Regions from separate parts of the Homo sapiens genome. Here region 1 is linked to region 2. The links are contacts of gene promoters, found by promoter capture Hi-C in human tissues and cell types (Jung and others, 2019). All regions are on one chromosome and are shown on one strand. The core of a region is centred on a gene start or on the middle of the fragment in contact, and the rest is flanking DNA. Distances in the headings are between cores, read along the strand shown.

What was found. The method cuts DNA at HindIII sites, captures the fragments that hold promoters and counts their contacts. A contact is called where the count stands out against the background at its distance.
Region 1: a fragment that was not itself captured here is called in contact with the fragment with the promoter of MORN4 in region 2 in 3 of the 25 tissues and cell types used here (aorta, dorsolateral prefrontal cortex and hippocampus).

What each region holds. Positions count from the first base shown.
Region 1 is chr10:97,555,757-97,562,249 of GRCh38, forward strand. All of the region lies in intron 1 of UBTD1 (ubiquitin domain containing 1), which reads left to right. LOC124902488 (a long non-coding RNA gene) reads right to left here and starts at 5,572. Exons shown (of 3, transcript XR_007062259.1): 1 at 5,305-5,572. The HindIII fragment of the contact is 5,776 bases long and covers 1-4,950 here.
Region 2 is chr10:97,630,359-97,636,350 of GRCh38, forward strand. MORN4 (MORN repeat containing 4) reads right to left here and starts at 3,142. Exons shown (of 5, transcript NM_178832.4): 1 at 2,989-3,142. RefSeq lists an enhancer at 3,406-3,495. The HindIII fragment of the contact is 11,879 bases long and covers 1-5,992 here.

The sequences.
Region 1 (6,493 bases), core at 813-3,312, 76 kb before region 2:
GACATCGGTTTCTAAGTTATGAGTTGAGTTTTAACTGCTGGGTTTAGGCCAGGCAGGCCAGGCGTGGTTTCGGGCCTGGCGCTGGGCTGCCTGTCTTTGGTTTTACTTCCTTGTTGTTTTTTCTTAAAATGGGTACTGAGTATAAAACCATATAAAACAATATGAGAGGGTCTCTCTCTTCCCTCATTTCCCCCCTTTGAGACTCTCACTTTTTATTAGTGGGAGTTCTCACTCTTATTTTTGCTACTTATGTCTTTTTGTGCAATAGATTGATAGTGATTTATATAGTATGCTTGTGCTGAAGCATTTTGGTGAACTAAGGTAGTGACGAAGTTTTTTATCATTTGGAGAAATACAGGTATCAGACAAGGGAGCAGTAAGCAGGTTCCTATTACTATTATTACTCTTATTATAAGAGTTTTAAATTCTTCTATTGCTGGGAACCAATTTCCAAACATGGCTCCCAGATTGAGTCCATGCCACACTTGCATGGGGGCATGTGCCAGTTTTGTTATATCTTTAACTATATCCTCAACTACTTGCCTGTGATCATCTATGTGTAGACAACAATTAGTAAGGTTAAATTTTTCACAAACACCTTCTTCAGCTGCTAGCAAGTACTCAAGAGCTAGTCTATTTTGATAGATAGCATTTCTCATCAGAGTCTCTTGCCAGGCAAGAACAGTCAAGTCTTGACCGGTTTTATTAGTAATAATTTCTAAAACAGCTTGTAACTGTGTGATTCGGTTGAGCATGTAGATGGGGGTTCAATATCCCCATGAGCCATCTTGTGCCAAAGTGGCTGGTCCATAGTATTATATGATTTTTTCAGGGGGCCATTTATCATCTTTCCAATCACCTATGGCTATGCTTCGTTTTTCGCGGGAAGCATAGACTGGGAAGCCCAGAAGTTTACCTGTTTTTATGGGCAGTAAGAAGAAAGATGACTTAATGGTGCCAATTACACAGCTACCTGTCCACTGATCAGGCAGCTTAGCATAAGCTCTGTGTCCACATATCCAGTATAACCTGGCGGGGGCCGTCCAGTCCCAGTGGAATTCTGGGTGGGCCCAAACAGTCTGCAACTTTGGAAATTTACTGAATGGATTTCTTTCTGTGTAATTGGAACTCCACCATGTAACTGTTTTTGTGGTACCATTTTACAGCTTTTGCCCAAGACAACTAAGCCGCCCTACAGGATGAGTGAATCCTTTTCCTTCTCTAGCTATGCAATACTGTCCAATAATTGAGACTTTTAGAACCCAAAAATTGTCAGGGTGGTTCTTTGGGGCTAAGAATTCATCAGGAACTGGGTCTGTAGGAACTAAGTGTCGGACTTCCCATGGCCATTGATCTCCTGTTACGGTTCCAACACAAATATAACATGAGGTGACTTGTAGAGACTGGGCTACATGTTTGGCTAATTGCAAAAATAAATTTTTAGTTTTTCCTGGAATCTCAAGTACTGGCACATTTAGTTCATCATAGAAAGTCTGAAATACTGTTTCTGGAGAGCGTTTTTGAACCTCTCTTTTTATTAGGATGCTTACACTAGGATCTAGTCCTTTTCCATCAATGCCTAATGTTGCATGTTTTTTTTTTAATTCCACTTTGGGTCTGAGGGGTTTGTGATTATCAATTCTAAAAGGTTGCAGCTCCCACTCGTGCAGGAGGGGCTGACTTTTCCTTTTTGGAGCTAAACAGGATCTTTTTTATCTTCTTTTCAAGTAGCCCAAATGACACAAGACCAGTACTGACACATCTCACATAAATATGATTCTTGACAGATATACTTATTTTTTTTTACTGTGTAACTTTTTTTTCCAATTTAGAGAACCGCATCCTATTCTATGCTGCTTACTATCAATAGTGGCACAAGCATCAAATTTTAAGGTTACATTTTTGGGACCCCTCTTTCTTCTGTTCTAGCTGTTACCTTACTTGTGTCACCTAGAAAAGGACCAGTCCTTAATTTTATTTTAAAAACTGTGATCATGGGAGGCTTAAAATGGGTCATAACACACATCAGGTTGGTTATTTCCTGGGCTACATACCTTGGATAGAATAGCATTATACAAACAAGTTTCTTTTAGAGTCCTGGTACACTTATAATAATCATAAAATAATAGGACTGTGGCAATCTTTTGTCTTACCTCAGTGACTTGATATATATACTGGAAACAGTTCTCAGTCTGAGAAAGGTCAGTTGAAGTCCTTACTGTACAAGTCTAAATTTTAAGGAAAATGAGTCCTGTGATGAGTTTCCTCATGCTTCGGCCGTGCGTGGACCAGTCAGCTTCTGGGTGTGACTGGAGCAGGGCTTGTCGTCTTCTTCAGAGTCACTTTGCAGGGGTTGGCGAAGCTGCTCCCATCCACGTACAGCTCCCAGTCTACTGATGTTTAAGGGTGGTCTTGGTGGTTGGGCCTACTAGAATAAACTGAATCCAATACTTCTACACAGTTATGTTTAACTGGGCTCTCTGATACCAGGAGTAAGGTGGCGGGGTTAGGGTGTTGCAAACTTCAATGGTTATGCGGGGATCTTCACAGAGCAAGCTTTGGTATCTAGTTAGTCTAGCATTCGTTAGCTAATGATGTCCTTTGGTATTTATTAAAGTCACCACAGCCTGGGCATACTTTAGGTTTTGCTTAAGAGTTAGCTTATCTGCTTCTTGTGCTAACAGGGCCGTTGCTACCAGGGCCTTTGGACGTGGGGGCAGCCTTTGGAAACCCCATCTAGTTGTTTTGAGAGATAGACCACTGCCCTTGGCCAGGACCCTACAGTCTGGGTTAAAACTCCAACTGCCATTTTTTCTCTTTCTGACACATAGAGTGTAAAGAGTTTTGTCAAGTCAGGTAGCCTCAGGGCTGGGGCCGACATGAATTTTTTTTTTTTTTTAACTCATGAAAAGCTCTTGCTGTTGGGTGTAATAGATGTAGTTTATCTAATTTACATTTTTATTGACTGTCATTTACCAAAATACTGACTTAAATCTTTTAACTATTTGATTTTAAGCTTTAAATTGATCTGGTATTCCTTGCGGGGCTTCGATTGCATCTAAATAGATGTGAGAGTTGAAAGACCTATAAGGGGCTTCTCTCGTTTTACGATGTCTTATTATTTTTTTTCTTCCTCTGGTTGATGAAATGCCAGGGTGAAAGGGATAGCCAAATGGACTAAAGCACAAGTGCCACTCTAGTTATTCAGCAGAGTGCCCAGTAAAGGTCCACCACAATACCACCACGCATCCGCTCGGGGATGAACAAGGGCTGACTGATTGATAAGCTCTTGAAAATTCTTAAGCTTGCTGCATCCCTTCAGGTCTCCACGGAATGCTAAGTCTCCTCCCTGCCATGAGAGACACGAAGTGAACTTAGTGTTGGGAGACGGAAGCTGGATGGCCCTCGGGGGCTGACCCACAGGGACTTCGGGATATAGCAGAGAGAGCTTGGCATGACTTATTACTCCAGGCTGTAGAATTCTGGAAAAGAGCTACCATGCAGCCCACGCCTGGTCGACTGGAGGACCACCTTAGTGGAAGGGGGACAATCAGGGCCTCTGGCCTGCCATGTGCACAAGCATAACAATTGCATTTGTTTAAAGTGCAGATGGAATATTTGATCCATTTCAACCAGGCATTTGCATCTTGGTGTGCTGTCTTAATTGCCAAAGTTTGTTTTAAGTCTAACTTTTATGATCCTCTAGTAAAATGAATGTTTCCTTTAGCACCAATTTTTACTAGTTTTTAGACCAAAGAAAACTCAACACCATTTTATATTTAATAATATTTCTTGTATGATTTTTATACCAGAGAAGCTAAATTTTACCTTTATATTAGTGTGTTATTAATATTAAACTTAATTTTAATAAAACCTTGTAGACATATTTATCCAATTTTTCATGTTTGACCATAAGGTAAGATTTTATAGACTCTTTTTAACCTTTTATAATTTTTGTAAAAGAGCAGGTTGATGCTTAAAGAAAAACCTGTTGCATTTTTACTTTAATGTCCAGTTCACCGAAAAACTGGATGATACCTTTTTAACTTTAGCTAATATGTTTACACACAGAATTTTCTTTATAATTAACGTTTTAAAACTTGCTTAAACTTTTAAAACATTAATTTTTTTAATCTTTTAATGTAGATAAAAATCCACATTTTTATGCCCCTTTATAATCTTTTTACCAAAAGTATATTTTACTTTTCTCATACACCTTGCACATAAACTGTTTTTTTTAATAGTCTTCAGGAGGCCTTATTACTTTTAAATTATACAACATTTTTTGCATAAATTTTTTATAACATTTTTTCTTTCATGACTTTCACCAGCAATTCTTTAACATGTTTCAACTTTTTGACTTGTTACAAACATTTTTTTTTTCTTTAAACAACCACTTAATTTATTTCAGGACAAGAATTTACCATATAACACTCTTTACATAAATTCTGCCTCACCCTTTTTTTGAAGATAACCATTCCTTTTTTTAAAGCAAACTTTCTTTATGTCTTTGGACTAGACTGTCTAAGGCCACAAGATTAGAAGTTACCATAATACATGTTACACTGTTAACTTTTAGCAAACTTCAGTTTTGTTGAAAACCTTGTAAGTTTGGGATTTCAATCATCCTTTGCTATTAATAAGACCTTGTTTAGTCTAAATTAACTTAGAATTGGTATAGATGGCCTTTTTTTCTCTCTGCTGGTCTTTACTTGCCTCTGCCAGCTGCTTATGCTGCTGTTATTTTAACTACTGTGGAGGGGAAGGGGGTCTAAAACCAGCTGTAACTATGTATGGAAACTGGTCTGGGTGCCTTGGCTTACAGGTTACCTTGTGTCATACCTTTGAAACAAGGGACCTGTCCAGGCTTCCTTCTGATCGCCAACCCACCTCTAATGCTGGCCAGTCTATTTCACACAAAGTTCTAAGTTTTCCTGGTGTCACAGTAGCACTGTAATCTCCCTTAAATTCTTCCTTGAAATTTTTTTTTTAACATAGTTCCTAGTAGGGTGGGCTTATTTGTGCCTGGCCCATGCTTCTTTGAGACAAAACACCACGCTTACACCACACACACCCCACAAAACAAAAAACAGGTAAAAAGGGCACACACACACTTTTGCAGTTTACACCAAACCAAAATCAGAGTATCCAGAAATCCAAGCCAGGTCAAAACCAAAACCAAAGTATCACACAATCTAAGTCAAGTCAAAACCAGAACAAAAGTACCAATGCAGGCACGTCGTGGGTGATCAGGCCACACTTCCACTCAGATGGAGTGGGGCAAGTTCCAAAGACTAGTCTTACCAAGTTTCAGATGTCCGGACTCCAAGTACCGGTTCCTTCCTGGTGTTCAGCCACTGTGTTAATCCTCCGTGGGGGCCTGCTACGTGCTGCTCTGGTGAGGCGTTCCACCGGGTCAATTTCCTACCCGGGAGCGCTCTTTGGATTGCATCACTCAGGCTGGCCGGAGTTCCCCACAGGGATGCTCCACAGGGCAGGTCTAAGCCGTCTGAGGGGCTGCCTCAGCCGTCCGTGAGTTACCTCGTTTCCTGGTCAGGGAACCAAGAAATGTAGCAGGATGAGCCACAGACAAAACCTCTCAGACACCGAGTTGTAGAAGGAAGGGCTTTATTCAGCTGGGAGCATCTGCAAGCTACTGCCTTAAAATCCGAGCTCCCTGAATGCACAATTTCTGTCCCTTTTAAGGGCTCACAACACTAAAGATTTCACATGAAAGGGTCGTGATTGATTTGAGCAAGCAGGCGGTATGTGACAGGGGATGCATGCACCGGTGGTCAGAGAGAAAGAGAACAGGGCAGAGAGTTTCACGATGTTCTTCTATACAATGTCTGGAATCTATGAATAACATCAGTTTCTAAGTTATGAGTTGATTTTTAACTACTGGTTTTAGGCCAGGCAGGCCCAGGTCTGGTTTTGGGCCTGGCGCCGGGCTGCCTGTCTTTGGTTTTACTTCCTTGTTGTTTTTTCTTAAAATGGGTACTGAGTATAAAACCATATAAAACAATATGAGAGGGTCTCTCTCTTCCCTCACGAGCATCATTTGTCACACATAGTCATCTTCCCCTCCCACCTGCAAGAGGAATGTTCCTTCTCACCACGAGCAAGTTCCTGTACACACCTGGATCTCTTTCTGGACTCTCTGTTCTCATTTGTCTTGTATACCAAAAATAAAATTCTAAGTCCTCCAACCAGTTGAACGGACCCCTCTTCTCAGCCAAGGGGATTCCAAAGAAATCTGAAAAACGAGTTCAGGCCATGATGGGAGGGGGAGTCAGGCCTCATTATACTCTCCTCCCTTCGGACTGTGTCTTCAGGCACAGCTGACCAGCATTAACATTAAAACGGTCCAGGCGTGGTGGCTCACGTCTGTAATCCTAGCACTTTGGGAGGCTGAGGCGGGTGGATCACCTGAGGTCATGAGTTCGAGACCAACCTGGCAACATGGTGAAACCCCGTTTCTACTACAGATACA
Region 2 (5,992 bases), core at 1,892-4,391:
GCCTGGCCACAGTATGGGTGTTTTAAGCTGCTAAATTCTGGGGTACTTTGTTATACAGCAATAATAACTGGAATACCATGTTTCAACCTAACCCTCCCACCATCCTCTCCCATTGGTTTTCAACAGTACATACTACAAACTTCCATTCCATTTTGACTTAGGCACATATAGCAAATTCCCTTCAGCAAATGCTTGCCAAAATGATGTCCATTGCCAAGACCACAGTCAGAAGTGCTAATGAAAGGGAATGTGTGTAGAATCCATGAGTCTCAGGCCATGGTTGAATACATTTGGCTAGAAACTGTCACATGTGCCCAAATAGTTGATATTGTCACTATTTGGGACAGTGTCTGGATTTTATGACTTTTATAATTAACCATGCTAATGAATAGCTTTACAGCTACTGACCTAAAAAGGAATTTCACCAGTAACCATGGTCATTGAGACAAACCTAGTTTAACAAAGTATAGTCAGTGCCGATGAAGACTGAAAGCCCAATACTTTTTTTTTTTTGAGGCAGTCTGGCTCTGTCATCCAAGCTGGAGTGCAGTGGCGTCATCTCAGCCACTGCAACCTCTGCCTCCTGGGCCCAAGCCATCCTCCCACCTTAGCCTCCTGAGTAGCTGGGACTACAGGAGCATGCCACGACACCCAGCTAATTTTTGCATTTTTTGGTAGAGACAGGGTTTTACCACGTTGCCCATGCTGGTCTTGAACTCCTGGGATCAAGTGATCTGCCTGCTTCAGCCTTCCAAAGTGCTAGGATTACAGGTGGGAGCCACCATGTCTGGCCCAATACTTTAATAAGGGATGCAAATCAGTATTTCTATCAGTTATCCAAATCATATTTTTAAAGAGAATATATGGCTCAGGAGTTTAGGCTACAGATACACCCATGGAATCCAGTCACAAACCAAGATGATTCACACTTCTAAACAGACACTCACCCTTTCTGCACTCCTGATAGATGGGTTGCAAAGGATCAGTCCAAACATTTACATAAAAGAAAATTACTATTCTGTCCCTGTAAACCAACACACTATTAGTCTGCACTATATACCATATTCCTGGTATCTTCATTTTCTTTTGTCCCAGACATTTCTTTTTAATTATTATTATTTTCTTATTTCCAAACAGAACTCTGAGGCAATAACGAGAATTTTTGTTTCCGTTCTTTTTATCGTTTTCTAATTTTAAGAAATCAACGTATTAAACAACATTTTTGTATTCACAGTAAACTGTGTCCAATTTAAGAGGATTAAAAAAAAAAAAACTGACATAAAGAGGAAAAAGGGCCAGGCATGATGGCTCACTCCTGTAATCCCAGCACGTTGGGAGGCTGAAGCAAGAGGATCGCTTGAGCCCAGGAGTTCAATACCAAGCTGGGAAACGTAGTGAGACCTCATCTCTACAAAACAATACAAAAATTTGCTGGGTGTGGTGGTGCATGCCTGTAGTCCCAGCTACTCAGGAGGCTGAGGTAGGAGGATTGCTTGAGCCCACAATTTGAGGCTGCCGGGGTGAGCAGTGACTGCACCACACCTGTACTCCAGCCTGGGCAACAGAGCCAGACCTTGTCTCAAAAAAAAGAAAAGAAAAGCAAAACAAAACAAAAGGTTGGGGCGGTGGGGGAGATCCAGTTAGAGAATACTGGGTGGAGGCAGCCACCCTAACTACCCACATGTCCCCCCAGAACCACCCTTCCCAGGGTACAATAGTCTTGTCAAATTATTTCAGTAATAAAGAAAGCAGTTCATAAGCTTTTAGAATCCTAAAGAGAAGAAAATGAAGGCTTTGATGAACAAAGATTAGCCTTGTTAGGAACCTAGAACAAAAAGTCAAATAATACTCCCCTTTTTTTTTTTTTTTTTTTTTTTTGAGACGGAGTCTTGCTCTGTCCCCCATGCTGGAGTGCAGTGGCAGGATCTTGGCTCACTGCAACCGCCGCCTCCCAGGTTCAAGCAATTCTCCTGCCTCAGCCTCCTGGGTAGTTGGGATTACAGGCACGTGCCACCATGCTTGGCTAATTTTTGTATTTTTAGTAGAGACGAGGTTTCACCATCTTGGCCAAGCTAGTTTTGAACTCCTGACTTCGTGATCCACCCGCCTCGGCCTCCCAAAGTGTTGGGATTACAGGCGTGAGCCACCGCGCCCGGCCTAAATATTTTTTTTTAAGTGTTTTAAAAGGAGCTCGAAATAACTGTTTTTCATTATAAGTCTAACCTCCTCTTTCCTCATGTGAAAAGTAAAGAAATGTATCGTTGCTATATGAAGGGTTCGTTTAGGGAAGACTGTGGGATGGTTAGATTGAAGAAAGTGGGAAGAAAATACTGGCGCCAAAAAGATTTTTTTTTTTTTTTATTTAAAGGCGATGATGACCTGGGGGTGATTGGGACTAGGGAGTAATACTGCCAGAATACTATCCTATTTCACGGGAAAGGGAATGCCAGGGCTGGACTCCGATATAGCAGTTATTCCTGCTGGTACCTAAGCAGTTCAGAGATGCTAGAATGCAGGGATACCACCCATCAACTAAATGAAGCATCCCATTCCCCAGGCTTCCATATGTGGGAGTTCTCTCCACCAGTGAGATAAAGGCGGGCTCAGGGAAAACAAAGCCCTAGACCACAACAAGGCAACACCTTCTCGCACCCCATTTTCACCTTCCAGGCGCGTTCCTTCCTGCTATCCGGGCCCGCTCTCCCGCCCGGCAGGGTCTAACGCTCACACAGGTCTGCCAATTCCCCTGATGCAACCCTCCACCCTCTGCTCGCTAACCCCAGTCCAGTCAGCTCTCCCGGGCCTCGACCCCCGCGGTGGAGACTAAAGGGTTCAGGTTTGGGTCCCCCACAGGCAACCGCCCTCAGGTCAGCGTATCCGAGGTGGAGCCGCGCCCCCGAGCCGGGTCATCTCGTGCTCCGTTCCTCAGTGCCCACCTGACCGATCACACTCTTTCCCGGCCCCCTCCCTCCTGCGCCTCCAGCCAACCTGGGGCCGGCCTTTCGGGATGACCGTCACGCCTGGACGCAGGGTTCCAGCGCCTCGGACTTTTCCTCTGATGGGCTCCCGGCTGCCACCTTGCTCTCCGCCACCTCCACCAGCGATTGCCCCACTTGACGCCGCCATCCTGGGCGACCGCACTGGGTACAATTCCCGCTGCCCATTGGCTGTTACCTAGGCAACCGGGAGCAACGCCACTCCGCATTGGCCCAGCCCGGCTCCACGCCATCTTTGTGCGGGGCCGAGTGTTTGCGAACCCGGGCTGACTATGTGAAAGAGGGGTGGTCCCACCTCTGCAACGCAGATAAAGACAGAGGATCCAGATCTGGCCTACCCAGAGGCCGTCTAGTTGAAATGGCAACCCCAAAGAAAACCAAACCTGCGCCCGAAGCAACAGTGACCATCAACGCGAGCGGCTCTGATCTTGCTCCAGTCCCCACTGCTGTCAAGGGCCCCGCCGCGGAGTTTAAGGCAGATCCTAAATCCAGCTTCAGAGAGGCAGCTTTGTAAATTGTAACGCGCTAGGCAGGATAGCCTCCAATAACTCTGTGCTAGACATTGTGATATCAAGACACTTTTGCATTCATTATAGGAATTTGTGCTGTCCTTGTCATTATCTAGATCCTTTTTGTTTAAAATATAGTACCTGGCCAGGCGCAGTGGCTCACATCTGTAATCCCAGCACTTCGGGAGGCCGCGGCTTGAGCTCAGGAGTGCGGGAGGCTTGAGCCCAAGAGTTCTAGATCAGCCTGGGCAACGCAGGGAGACTCCGTATCTACAGAAGAAAAAAATTACCCAGCCTAGTGGTGGGTGCCTGTAGTCACAGCTACTCAGGAGGCTGAGGTGGGAGGATCCCTTGAGCCCAGGAGGTTGAGGCTGCAATAAGCCATGATTCTGCCACTGTACCCCAGCCTGGGCGACCTAGCAAGACCCTGTCTCAAATAAATAAATTGCAAACCAAAAAGTATCTGAGACAGGTCTCAATCAATTTAGGAGTTTATTTTGCCAATGTTAAGGACATGCCCGTGACACAGCCTTAGAAGGTCCTAAGAATGTGTGTCCAAAATAGTCGGGACACCACTTGATTTTATACATTTTAGGGAGACGTAAGACATCAATCAATACATGTAAAATATACATTGGCTTGGTCCCGAAAGTGGGGGTGGGGGTGGCAAGTTCCAGGATGTAGGTGGATTCAAAGATGTCCTGATTGACAATTGGTTGAAAGAGTTTAAAGACCTGGAACCCACAGAAGGGAATGTCTGGGTTAAGTTAAGGAATTGTTACTAAGATATGCACGCACACACACACACACACACACACACACACACACACAAGGAATTGTGGAAATCAAGGTTTTTATTATGCAGAGAAGGCTACAGGTAGCAGGCTCCAGAGAGCATAGATTGTAAATGTTTCTTTATTTTTTTTTTTGTTTTGAGACAGGGTCTCCCTCTGTCACCCAGTCTGGAGTGCAGTAGCTGGATCACGGCTTACTGCAGCCTTGACCTCCCAGGCTCAAGTTATCCTCCCACCTCAGCCTCCTAAGTAGCTGAGACTACTGGTTCATTCCACTATGCCTGGCTTATTTTTGTATTTTTTGTAGAGATGGTGTTTTGTCATGTTGCCCAGGCTGGTATTGAACTCCTGGGCTCAAGTGATCCTCCCATCTCTGCCTCCCAAAGTGCTAGGATTACACGTGTGAGCCACCAAGGCTGGCCAGTGTTTATTATCAGATTTAGAAAGGTATCAGACTCTTAGTTAGTTCTCCCCTGGATCAGGAAAAAGACCTGGAAAGGGAAGGGGATTTTCTACAGAATGTAGATTTTCACCATAAAAGACACCTTTGCCTGCTATCATGACAGATGGGGCCTGCTATCTGTCAATGTTGGTATCATTGCTACAAAGAGTCTGCTGTGTCAACCTTAAGATCTCTGCTTTAATGTTAAATGCTGGTCCTGAATTCCAAAAGCAGGAGAAAATAATGAGGCATGTCTGACTCCCACTTCTCATCATGGCCTCAAATAGTTTTTCAGGTTAATTTAGGAATGCCCTTGGCCCAGAAGAGGAGGCCATTCATTTGATTGGGGGGCTTATAATTTTATTTCTGGTTCACTAGATAAATAAATAAATAAATAAAATATAGTGCCAAGATTGGAGCAAATCTTCCCAAATACCACTCACATCAATCTGTGTATCCATATGTTTATTTCTTAAACAATGTGAGTACAGCATGATGCTAGGTTCTGTCAGGCTTGAAAAGCCATGATTGTTACTCTTATGGCCTTTATAATTAGCTGAGTGTGGTGACAAGTGCCTGTGGTGCCAGCACTCGGGAGGTTAAGGCAAGAGAACTGCTTGAGCCTGGTTAACAGAGACCCTGTCTCAAAACATAAATAAATAAATAAATAAATAAATAAATAAATAAATAAATAAATAAAATGTAGTTTCTTGGCCAGGGGAATGACACACTACAAGCAGTATTTTATGAAAATTAATCTGACAGTGACACTCAGAGATGACCAGTGAGAGATTGGAAGCAAAGTAACAAACTCAGAAGTTATTGTAATAATGCAACTAACACATCCTGGAAGTTTCATGTAGCATCAGTGGAGATGAAAGAAAGGGGGTAAATATGAGACATATTTCATAGGGATATTTAATAAGAATCAACATAGTGTTAAGAGCATGGAAACAGTCTGCCTGGATTTGGATCCGGCTCTGCCATTTACCAGCTGAATGACCATGGGCACATTACCTTTACCTCCCTGGGTCTGGGTTTCCAACATCACAGGATACTATAAAGCTGGTTCCATGAGTTAATCCATGTAATGCATTTAAAACAATGTCTAGGCCGGGTGTGGTGGCTCATGCCTGTAATCCCAGCACTTTGGGAGGCCGAGGTGGGCGGATCATGAGGTCAACAGATCGAGACCATCCTGGCCAACATGGTGAAACCCCGTCTCTACTGAAAAATACAAAAATTAGCCGG